4 separate regions of the Homo sapiens genome follow, and all the other regions are linked to region 2. The links are contacts of gene promoters, found by promoter capture Hi-C in human tissues and cell types (Jung and others, 2019). All regions are on one chromosome and are shown on one strand. The core of a region is centred on a gene start or on the middle of the fragment in contact, and the rest is flanking DNA. Distances in the headings are between cores, read along the strand shown.

Evidence for each region. The method cuts DNA at HindIII sites, captures the fragments that hold promoters and counts their contacts. A contact is called where the count stands out against the background at its distance.
Region 1: the fragment with the promoter of PVALB here is called in contact with the fragment with the promoter of MFNG in region 2 in 2 of the 25 tissues and cell types used here (dorsolateral prefrontal cortex and spleen).
Region 3: the fragment with the promoter of EIF3D here is called in contact with the fragment with the promoter of MFNG in region 2 in 2 of the 25 tissues and cell types used here (lymphoblastoid cells and mesendoderm cells).
Region 4: the fragment with the promoter of NCF4 here is called in contact with the fragment with the promoter of MFNG in region 2 in 1 of the 25 tissues and cell types used here (spleen).

The regions. Positions count from the first base shown.
Region 1 is chr22:36,815,609-36,818,308 of GRCh38, reverse strand. It overlaps PVALB (parvalbumin), which reads left to right and starts at 1,274. Exons shown (of 4, transcript NM_001315532.2): 1 at 1,274-1,364. The coding sequence starts at 1,304. The HindIII fragment of the contact is 41,984 bases long and covers 1-2,700 here.
Region 2 is chr22:37,485,013-37,487,712 of GRCh38, reverse strand. It overlaps MFNG (MFNG O-fucosylpeptide 3-beta-N-acetylglucosaminyltransferase), which reads left to right and starts at 1,329. Exons shown (of 8, transcript NM_002405.4): 1 at 1,329-1,790. The coding sequence starts at 1,536. RefSeq lists enhancers at 1-436, 437-948, 949-1,458, 1,935-1,984, 2,385-2,444 and a silencer at 1,235-1,364. The HindIII fragment of the contact is 15,221 bases long and covers 1-2,700 here.
Region 3 is chr22:36,527,761-36,530,460 of GRCh38, reverse strand. EIF3D (eukaryotic translation initiation factor 3 subunit D) reads left to right here and starts at 1,295. Exons shown (of 15, transcript NM_003753.4): 1 at 1,295-1,385. RefSeq lists enhancers at 1,025-1,424, 1,735-1,784. The HindIII fragment of the contact is 12,569 bases long and covers 1-2,700 here.
Region 4 is chr22:36,859,556-36,862,255 of GRCh38, reverse strand. NCF4 (neutrophil cytosolic factor 4) reads right to left here and starts at 1,250. Exons shown (of 10, transcript NM_000631.5): 1 at 1,053-1,250. The coding sequence starts at 1,084. The region is part of intron 1 of NCF4-AS1 (NCF4 antisense RNA 1); the gene reads left to right. The HindIII fragment of the contact is 13,239 bases long and covers 1-2,700 here.

The sequences.
Region 1 (2,700 bases), core at 25-2,524, 670 kb after region 2:
TCCCCACCACCCAGGGCCACCACAGCCCAAGGCCCTGCCTACCTGCCAATACCTTAAGTTGCAGTCCCCAGGTCCCACTACATGGGACCACTGACGTCATCAACACATCAGAAGGAGACAGAAGCCCAGAGAAGGTCACAACCCAAGGTCACACTGGGACTTAGTGCAGCCCAGGATCTAGAACCCAGGCCTCCTGACTCCCTGTCCAGCGCTCACACACTCTAGAAGCAGCTGGTTGCAGCTTGAAACCTTGGGAACCATGGGGAAGAACACAACGGGTCTCTGGCTGCATACAGATAGGCACCGTGACATTTTTCCAGAGGTGAAGTTCAGACCCCTACACCTGCTTAGGTTGTCTAGAAAGTGTGGTCTGAAGGTGCTACCCTTCTTCCAAACACATATGGGGCTTTCTGGGAGGGAGCATAGCAATTCCAAGCGGACTCTCCCACCCTACTCTGCCCAAAAAAGGTTTATAGGAGTAGGGGGAGTCTGGACCCATGATGCCAGGACCCAGGAGACCAGGAAAGCAAGTAGTTAGTAGAGATCTGAGAAGTGTTCTTCGAAAAATCAAGCCAGCAAAAAAATAAAAAATAAAAGTAAAACATCAAATCAGGTTTTAGAATATGCATCCCTGGCCAGATGTGGGATGGGGCACCCGAAGTGGGCCCCAGCAGCTCCTGCCTGTCCCTGTCCCTGTCCCTGCCACCTCCTCCCTGCGTCGGGTGGGTCAGGTTTCAGGACCTCAGCGCTCAGATTTTGCAGCATAAATTTGCATCCAGGACAGACCAGAGCAGAGGCTGAGGTAGGAGTGGAGAGAGAAAGGGAGCAGGGCCTAGGAGGTCCTGAGGTGCAGGCTGGCCGCTGAAGGTTCAGGATCTTCCCCCACGCGGCAGGACATCCGCCAAGGTTCCCAGATCTGAGACGGCGCACCTCCTGCGTGTCCTTGACGGCAGGTGGACTTTCCAGACCCAGCTGGTGACGCCAGTGCCCCCTAAATCCCAGAGGTGGCCCCTTCCCTCGTGCCCTGGCCGCAGCCCCTGGGATCCCGCGGACCCCTGGCCTGGCGGTGCAGGAGTGGTAGCAGGTCCGCGCGCCTTCTTGCCGGCGGCCGGCGCTGCTCAGCGGCGCGGCTGGACTGAGCCGCTCCCGCTGCGCTCAGAGTCCGGGCCCCTGGCGCCATGCCAGGCCCGGCGGGCGTGCGCCCGGCGCGCAGCACTGCAGCGCTGGTCATATGAGCAGAAATGATGAGAAAAGCACTTTTTAATCTTTTCGCACTTGCTCTGCCCGCTCAAACAGTTGCAGGATGTCGATGACAGACTTGCTGAACGCTGAGGACATCAAGAAGGCGGTGGGAGCCTTTAGCGGTGAGCAAGCGCGCTCCCCTCCCCATCCCTCTCCCCTCGTCCACCGCCCGCGCCCCTGCACTCCGCCGGCCCCGCAGCCGGCGGATCCTCCCCAGCGCGCTTCTGCCCACACTTCCCGCTGGGCGCCGGCGAGGTCGGGGCGGGGGCGTCCTTGGCAGTTCCCAAACTCTGTCCGGGCGAGGCTTGGCGCGGGGAGCGGGCGGGGAAGAGGGCGCCCCGCCTAAGTTACAGAAACTTGAGGGTGCTGAAGGCCCGGTGGCTGGGAGGACTCAGGGTCCGGGACCAAGGGCGAAGACCAGGGTCGGAGGAGAGACCTCCAGGGTCCTTGTACGAGCTCTCTGGACGTCCTCTTTAAGGCACTTAGAGGGGACTGCAGGGGGCATCCTCCTCTCCAAGAGACCCCTTTCCTGGACCCTCATTCTGGACAGGACTTTTCCCGCCAGGCGGTAGCCTTTGTTGGCCCCCTGACTGTCCTAGTTCCTTTACTGAGATTCAGCAACGGACCTGCGGGCGAGGTGACCTTCTGGAGCCGGCGCACAGCTCTGCCTAAGCCCGCACGGGGCATCCTCAGTGCCTCAAACCTCCAGCCTCCTTAGGCGGGCAGGGGAGGGGAACTGGCAGTCTCACCTCTCCCAGCTGCCCGGGACTTCAGCGCTAAGCTGCCCGCCTTCCTCCTCCCCTGTCCTCCAGATGGGGAAATCAGGGAACTGTCTTGGAGAGGACAAGACATTTGCCCAAGGTCACCTAGCTGGGCAGAAGGGGTATTAGAACTGGGTTGCCCAGCCTAGTGTCGGAGGTGGACAGGGCAACTTTCCTTGTCTCTAGCCCTGTGCTGAGGGGAAGAGAACATGACTTCAACAGCCATTCCCTACACACACACACACACACACACACACACAAAATACATGATCTAACATTGTACCCTTCCCCAGGTGTTCTAAAACAGGACCCCAAGATACAGAAAATTGCAGGTAGAAAAGGACCCCCATTTCCTTTCTGCTTTGCACCCCCTCCCCTGGGCACAAGAACCTCTCTGGGAAGCCACCCTCCCAGGGTCCTGGGATAACCCTCTCCCTTCACCTCAAGCCCATGTGGGAAGAAACTTAACTGGGTGTTTCTCGGGAGCCTCCTAACACCCCCTTCCCACTGCCTCCGAAGTGGATTTCTGCGCAGAGCCAGGACTTCCGGGTTTGCCCCTCCTCCTCCCACTGTATGACCTTGAGGGAAACCTGTCCTTTCTATGTCAATTTTCTGGCAACAAAGTCTGTGGCCAAGAAAGAAGGTCAACCCTCCTCCCCCTAACCCCAGGACCATGTTCATGCCCCCTTCAATTCCC
Region 2 (2,700 bases), core at 80-2,579:
GTTGTGTTGAATTAACATTGATTGAGTTCTTGTCTGCCGGTCACTGTTCTAGGCACTGGGGATTAGGGACTCAGTGATCAAAAAATAAATCCTGCCCTGATATTCTCATGAGGAGGACAGAAACTTAGTTAAACATACAGAATGTTGGAAGATGAAAAGTGTGATGAAGAAAACAGTGAAGTGGCTTGAGAGGGACAGGCCTGGGGGGCTGGGAAGGAGGCGGCGAGGGGTTGCAATGTTAATAACGTGGTCAGGGAAGGCCTCACAGAGACGGTGACCTTTGTGTAAAGACCAGAAGGGAGTGGGGGAGTGAGACGTGCAGGTCTCTAGGGAGGGGCCCAGGTGGGAACAGCAAGTGCCAAGGTCCTGTGGCGGCCAGGTGCCTGGGCCAGCGAGGGTCCCAGGTTCTGGAGTGGAGCAGGGTGAGTAGCAGGAGATGGGGTGGGAGTAACTTGGGAGCCAGCTCACGCAGGGCCTTGTGGGCTGCTGTGTGCGTTTTGGCTTTTGTTCTGAAGAAAATGGGAGCCAGTGCAGGCTCTGAGTGGAGGAGGGAGGAGGTGTGAGTGAGCTTGTGCGAAACAAGATGGAGGTGGTGGCTGGAGAAGGCCCTCTGTCTGTCCACTGGTCAGGTGCTGGGAGAGAGGCAGCTCCAGAGACTGCGGAGTGAGGTCGGGTATGGGCTGGGGCACAGCTGGACAGGTGCCCTCAGGGGACCTCCTGTGAACTAGATGAGGAACAGAGACCTGGGTTCTGCCAGCTCTGCGGCTGAGTTGCTGGATCGTTTTTGCTCATTCTGTGCCTTTGTGCCTTATGTCTTCAGCTATAAACTGGGAACGACAGTCCCAGTGCTGTTGTGAAGACCTCAGGAACTGAGCGAACAACTGTGGGAGCCCCAGAGGTTAAGAGGTTATCACGGAAGGCTTCCTGGAGGAGGGAACCCTTAAGCTTTGAAGTCCAGATAGAACTCAGCCTAGTGGAGGGAATGTGGGTGAGGCTGGTGGAATATGGGAGAGCATCCCGGAGGAAACCTGTGAGCAAAAGCTGGGGGCTGGGTGAAGCAGGACACCAAAGTAATGGGTGTTGAATGGGCCGAGCTGACAGCTCTCTGGGGGAGTGGACGGTGCTGGAGGACACTCCCTTCCACCGGGCACGGAGGGTTTGTTGTGACTTCCTCCCACCGCAGCAGCTGGCAGAGCCGGGGCTGCCCTTTCTGCTGGTGCCTCCTTTCAGCCGCCTCTGTCTGGGGTTCCCTTCGTCTGGCCCCGCCCCTCGGGCTAAGCGGGGCGGGGCCAGGCGGTCCCGGAGGCTGCGGCAGGCCGGACAGCGGGAGCAGGTGGAGGACTGGCGGCGGTCGAGATCGTGCTGCCATGGCTCAGCCTCTGGGTCCAGAGCCTCAGCTCCTACCTCTTCCCTCCTTGCCAGCCCCTGATGCCTGCCAGACTTTTGCCTCTGCTGGAGCCCCTGCCTGACCAGCTTCCCCTCCCTGTCTGGTTGGGATTTGGGGGCTGAGCTGTCTGGGGTCCCAGGGCCAACCAATGCAGTGCCGGCTCCCGCGGGGCCTGGCTGGAGCCCTCCTCACCCTCCTGTGCATGGGGCTCCTGTGTCTGCGGTACCACTTGAACCTGTCCCCGCAGCGGGTACAAGGGACCCCCGAGCTGAGCCAGCCGAACCCGGGGCCCCCTAAGCTACAGCTACACGATGTCTTCATTGCAGTGAAGACGACCCGGGCTTTCCACCGCTTGCGCCTGGAGCTGCTGCTTGACACGTGGGTTTCCAGGACCAGGGAACAGGTGACAAGTGGGTGACATTGGGCCCTGGGGGTGGCCCCTGGCCTAAGGGGTTCTCAGAGGCCTTTCTACTGGGCTGGGGTCCCTGACTGCCTCATGGGAGAAGCTGCTCAATACCTGCCTAATCAGGGATCCTCTTCCTCTCTCCTTCTTCCGGGCTTTAGGGGCTGCCTGCGGCCCTGCCCGTGCCCTGTACTGGTCCTGACTCCAGGTGCACCCAGGTCCTACCGCTCCACCACTTTTGGGGGCCAGGCTGGGCCCCTGCTCCAGGCTCCCGGGTCCCTCCTGGGGGTTCTTCTATTCCTAGCCGCTCCCGTGGGGGCTTCGCTCCTAGCCACCCAGGCCCAGCCTGGCATCAGGGGTAATGGTGGGTGTTGGGCAGCTGGGGTGGAGGCCTCCAAGAGGTCCTGACCCAGACCCGTGCCCAGGCCAGGCTGTCCCACCCAGGCCCTAGGTGCTGTCCTGCCCGGGCTCTGAGGGTGGAGGACGGGAGGAGAATGGTGGGGTCTGTTCTTGGGGGAGGCATCCCTTCGGCCTTCCCGATAGCCCCTGCCGCTGTGTCTCTGCTGCCCCGGGTGTGCCGAGGCCGCCATGTCTGGCCTCCTGTGTTGGCTTCCTGCGGACTGCTTCCGAGGGAGGGAAGGAGAGCGCATGCCACGAGGGTGGCGGCTGAGGCAGTGGTGGGCCGGAGGTTGGGGAGGCCTGCCTGGCACGTGGGATTGTGTGTGTGTGTGTGTGTGTGCTCACACGCACGGAGCTGGAGTGTGCTAGATGTGTGTGACAAGAGGCATGTCTGTCACATGGCTGTGCGGCTCCGGCGAGCCAAGTCCCTTCCAGCCCTTTCCCTCCTCGCATCCAGTATCTTCCTTAAGCAAAGTTAGTGATGTCGGTGTTAGGGACCGTTGATGGGGGA
Region 3 (2,700 bases), core at 46-2,545, 960 kb after region 2:
ACTTTGGGAGGCCGAGGTGGGTAGATCACCTGAGGTCAGGAGTTCGAGACCAGCCTGGTCAGCAAGGTGAAACCCCGTCTCTACTAAAAGGAAAATTAGCCGGGCATGTTGGTACACGCCTGCAATCCCAGCTACTCGGGAGACTGAAGCAGGAGAATCACCTGAACCTGGGATGCGGAGGTTGCAGTGAACTGAGATAGCGCCACTGCACTCCACTCCAGCCTGGAAGACAGAGCAAGACTCCGTCTAAAAAAAAAAATTAGCCAGGCATGGTGGCATGCACCTGTAGCCTCAGCTGCTCCGCACGCTGAGGCGAGAGGACCACTTTAGACCAGGAGTTAAAGACCAGCCCGGGCAACATAGTGAGACGCTGTCTCTACAAAATTTTTAAAAATCATTAGCTGGCCGGGTACGGTGACTCATGCCTGTAACCCTAGCCCCAGTGGGTGGACTGTTGAGCTCAGGAGTTTGAGACCAGCCTGAGCAACATAGCAAAACCCCATCTCTACCAAAAATACAAAAATTAGGCAGGCGTGGTTGTGCGTGCCTGTGTACACCAACGACTCGGGAGGCTGAACTGGGAGGATCGCTTGTACCTGAGAAGTCGAGGGTGCAATAAGCCGTGATCCTGCCACTACATTTCAGCCTGGGCGACAGAGCGAAACCCTGTCTCAAAAAATAAATAAAAATAAATAAAAACACTGTTCCAGAAATCCCTGTCCTACAATTAAGTTTGAGAACTGCGGAAGTATGGTTTGAACTCTGGCGGTTAGAACCCTAAACTAACAGTCTGATCTAGGCAGGTCACTTGGCACTTCTGAGCCTCAGTTTCCACAACTATAAAGGCGGAGGAGTAACAATAAGGACCGCCTAAGACACCGACGGACCTCCCCTGCGCTGAGTTTCACATTAAGCAGGCAGGTAGAACAGGCGGGGAGTCGCGGGTGACGGTGGGATACATGGGGGCTGAGGCGCGCCGCGAAGCATTGTGGGACACAGAAGGGCGCCAGTCGCTCCCCGCCTCGAGCTTCGATTGCGCGGCCGCCAAGTTTCAGTGATGAACGCCCTCTTTGGGCGTCCCCGGATACCGCCTGACGTAGTGCCAATCACACCTCTCGCGTCTCGGCGCCTCGGAGGCTAATGAGGACGCCTGGCGAAACGCAGTAACGGATTTCCGGGTGGACCTTCGCTTTACGGCTCGTGAGTTCTTCCGCCCAACCCAGAGGAAGCGGGAGAGCAGTTTACGACAGCGCCGGTCGTGTTTACGGCGGCGCCCGCTGCGCGCGCATGTTTCCTCTTTTCCTGGTTTCTCAAGAGTGCTGCTGCTAACGCGGTCCCCGGCACGCACCATCTGTTGCCATCCCGGCCGGCCGAGGCCATTGCAGGTGAGCGGCGTGTTTCATAGGTTCCTGCGGCCCTCCGGAGCCGGTTCGGACTAGGTCCAGCCTTCGGGGGGCCTCCCGGAAGAGACCTCTCTTAGTCCCTTCCTGCTGTTGCCGTCCCTCCGCTGGGCGGGGCAGGAATCCACTTTCGGGGGCCCCGCGTCCCGCACGCTACTGAACGCGGGACACGACCTTGTGGGTGAGGTCCTTGGCCCTCGGCCCTGCTCAGTGCCCATGAGCTGGGTGAATTTGATTGTCACTTAACTCACCTGGGTTAAGACGGAGGGGTAACAACAAAGTCTTTCTGAAGTGGCCGAAAACTCCCTGACTTTTTGAGTGAGGTCTTAGGGGTACCAGGCTGAGCGGTGTTTGGCCCCTGTTCTTAGGAATTCACAGTGCATAGGTTATCTTTCCTTTTTTGTGAAACTGGAGGCTAGGATAGAGAAGTAGATTTGATCTCTGATCTTAAATCTACCCCACCCCCTGTTCAGCGATGGACGGCTTATGATCTGTAGTGGCCTGCCAACCACAGAGCCCCTTCTGAGTGCCCTCTTGGAACCTCCCTATCCTGCCCCTGTGACTAGTACAGCTGTTACTTCGTTTTTGCTGAGCGGCTCAGTTTCTCCTCCTGGTTCCGCTCTGCTCTTAAAAAAAAAAACATTTATTAAAGCCAGGGTATCTCATCCCTGGCTTTCCAGGGAGGTGATGCAGGTCGAGCCTCGGGCCTCTTCCCTTCTTGAGCTTCTGACAGAACCCGATTTTTTAAAGTGTGTTTTGAGACTCGTTGTCTTGGTATTATGATGTACGGTCTCAAACCCCTGATCTTTGCGGGCTGCTGCCCAGCTGTAATATAATGGAAAGAAGGCTGGACTGACAGCAGGCAACCCTGGAAATCAAATCTGTTTTGAAATGATGAGGTCAGCTGCTTGAGTAGGCTGAGCTTCAAATTTTTGCCTCTAAAGTAGGGGTGGGGGGGTGGTCAATGGTGTTAAATTATCTGGTATAGGGCCTAACACGTAGGAGCTCAGCAATATTTATTTAATACAAATTGTTCTGAGACCACCACCCTTTTTCTTCTGTCCTCTTCCTATAGTTTCTATTAGAAAGATGAAACTTCTAGGTTCATCCTGTGTTGCTGTCACCCAAATGTCATCTCTGAAGGAAGCCTCAATCTCCCCAGCATGGGGCTTTGAGGAGAGTTTACTAAGTTCAGCATACCTGTTCTTTTGATTGCTCTCCAGCCTCCAAGAAACATTTGATTTTTGTTTTTTTGAGACGGAGTCTTGCTCTGTTGCCCAGGCTGGAGTGTAATGGCAGG
Region 4 (2,700 bases), core at 1-2,500, 630 kb after region 2:
TGTTCCCCGCGTAGGCACACACCAGCCTGGCCTGTCTCTGGTGACCCCCTGAGTGGCCTCCACGTAGGTAACAGAGGTCACCTGCTGTTCCAATCCAGGGGGTGCAGGGGCCAGGCTTTGCGTCCTCAGGGCCCCCGCAGCTTAGAGCTCAGACCTGGCTACTGAGGAAAAATTCTGAAAATGCTTCCCAAGCGACGAGGCTAGATGCTGGTGAGGCCGTGCTCCAAGCCCCAACCTTGCCAGTCACTCTCTGTGACCCTGAGTAAGTCTCTTATCCTCCCTGGGCCTCAGATTTCCAATCTGTACAATGGCAAGGTTGGACTAGAAGAATCTAAGACCTTTTCCGTCTCAAAGATCCACCCATTCATTCATTCATTTATTCATTCATTCAGCAACATTTATTGAGCCCTTGGTCCTGGTGCTCAATAGGGATGAGCTACCTCCTAGTGATACAGCAGCGATCAAAACGGACACAGCCTCGTGGAGCTTGCTTCTCATGGGGGAGCCAACGTTCAAGAAAAAATAATAAATGAGCATATAATATTATTCCTGTAATATAAGAACCAGGCAGAAAAGGGAAATAGGGCAAAGGGTCAGACAGCAATGAGGTAGGGGCTGTCAGGAAGGCTTCTTGGAGGAGGTGACATTTGAGGCAAGCCCTGATTAGCGGAAGAACAAGCCAGATTCTGTGAATTCTGTTTGCGCAGAAGATGGAAAGTCATTGCTGATCACCATGTGAAGCAAAGGGCCCCAGCCTGGGACCCAGGACACCTGCATTCCTCTCCAGACACTGCCGGTCACTCGTTGTGTGACCGTGGGCAAGTCACTCCCACTCTTGGAGCCTCAGTGTTCTCATTTGTGTCTGAGGGTGGTGAGCCACAGCTCAAAGTTTCGTTAAAGCAGTTCTGAGAGGTTGCATTTCTGAGTATTTGGGTTCTGACTCAACCCCAGCCTCTCATGTTGATCAGGGACTGCAGAAGGACTGGCCTTTGTCCCTAAGGCCTATGAGGAGCAGTGAGAAGGCCCGGGGGCGGCCACACCCCGGCACTCACCTCTCGGCCCGCAGCTGCTGGGCCACAGCCATGGTGGGCGATGGTCCCAGGGAGCAGGTGGAGAGTCTCGCCCAGCCAGTCCCAGGCTGAGTTCACCTCTCACTTCCTCCAGCCACCCTGCGTCTCGTCTCAGCCTGTGGTCCTGGGAGTCCCCAGGAGCTGCCTTTGGGGAGGCTCAGGCCTGCTTCTCTCCAGTCTGGCAGAGGCTCCTCCTCCAGGCTCTCTGGGCCTAGCCTGTGGCCCACACTTCCTCTTACCTCACCTCCCAGCTGCACAGAAATTGAGGAAGTGGACCCTCGGGTGCCAGGTTTGCAGGAATCCACTTCCTTGATGTCAGTCCTTGGCGCCAAGCCTCAGTTGGGTATCAGAAGCCTTGCTCCATCAGAGATGGGGTCCCAGCCATCAGGGTGTCTTGTGACCTTGAGGAGTCACTTATCCTCTGGCCCATCAAGCCCCACCTTTATTCTCTTACTGCCAAGCCTTTGCCCAAACTCTTCCCCAGGCCTAGAATGCTGGCCTCCATTTTCCTGTGATCTCTTAGGCCCAGAGTAAATGCCACCTCCTCCAGGAAGCCCTCCTGGTTCCTCTGGCCTCTGTCTTCCTAGAGTGTGAAGTTTGGTTTGCGCGCCCTGGCACTCTGGGATATCCTTTCCTCATCCTTAGATCTCCATGCCCAGCCAATCCTCTTTCACAGGGCTGCCAATCAGAGTGAGTTTCACCCTCCCTGCTTAAACTCTCCTGCCCCATCACCCTGTGCTCAGGATAAAGTCCAGAGTCCTTGCCCTGCCTGCCTCCAATGCCCCTGAGGCCCTGCAGCCTTCCCCAGCCTCTGCTCCTGAGCTCCCTTTTTCTCACTGGCCTCCTTTCCGTTTCTAGAATGTTCTAAGACGTCCGCCCCAAGGCCTATGCTCATGGTGTTCCCTCTGCTGGAAAAAGCTCTTCACTGCCTCCTTTGCATCTCAGCTTAGAAGCTACATCTTTAGCGAGGCCTTCCCTGACCACACACCCTAAATTAAGGCCCTCCCTACTACATTCTCTCACAGGTCCCTGCACGTCTACTGCAGAGCACTCATAACTATTGTCATCTCACATTTGTTTGTTTATCTGTATGTTTAATGACTGCCTCCTTGGCTAGCAGCGTGCCTGGCACATTGCAAGTGCTCAACCAATATTCAGTGAATGAATGAAACGCTGCCAGTCAGTGACTGCAGCTCCTAACAGGTATGGGTATTTGATTCTGAAGGGACTTCTCTGAGAAGAGGTCCACAGGAGTCATTGGCACAGCCACACCCAGTAACTCCCTGCCAGCTACACACGCTCACACACTCGTATTCATACATGCAGAGCAGAAAGTTGTTTTAAACTACTTTAAACATACAAGTCCCAGCTAAAAAAAACAAGAAAGCATAATTTTTAGGTAGGATCAAAGAGAGGGGTCAGGAATCTATACCAGGGGGAGAGGAACGTGGCCAACAGCCCATGGGAAAACCAAGATTGGATATGCATTGTTGGGCTGAGATTTTAATGCCAAATCTGGGACTAGGTACAGGCCACAGGTCCTGCTGTTAGCAGAAAGTCAAATCTGAGTTCTCAGTGTAAAGTGGGTGTCAGAACTGATTATGGGAACAGAGTTTCTCAGCCATCAGCC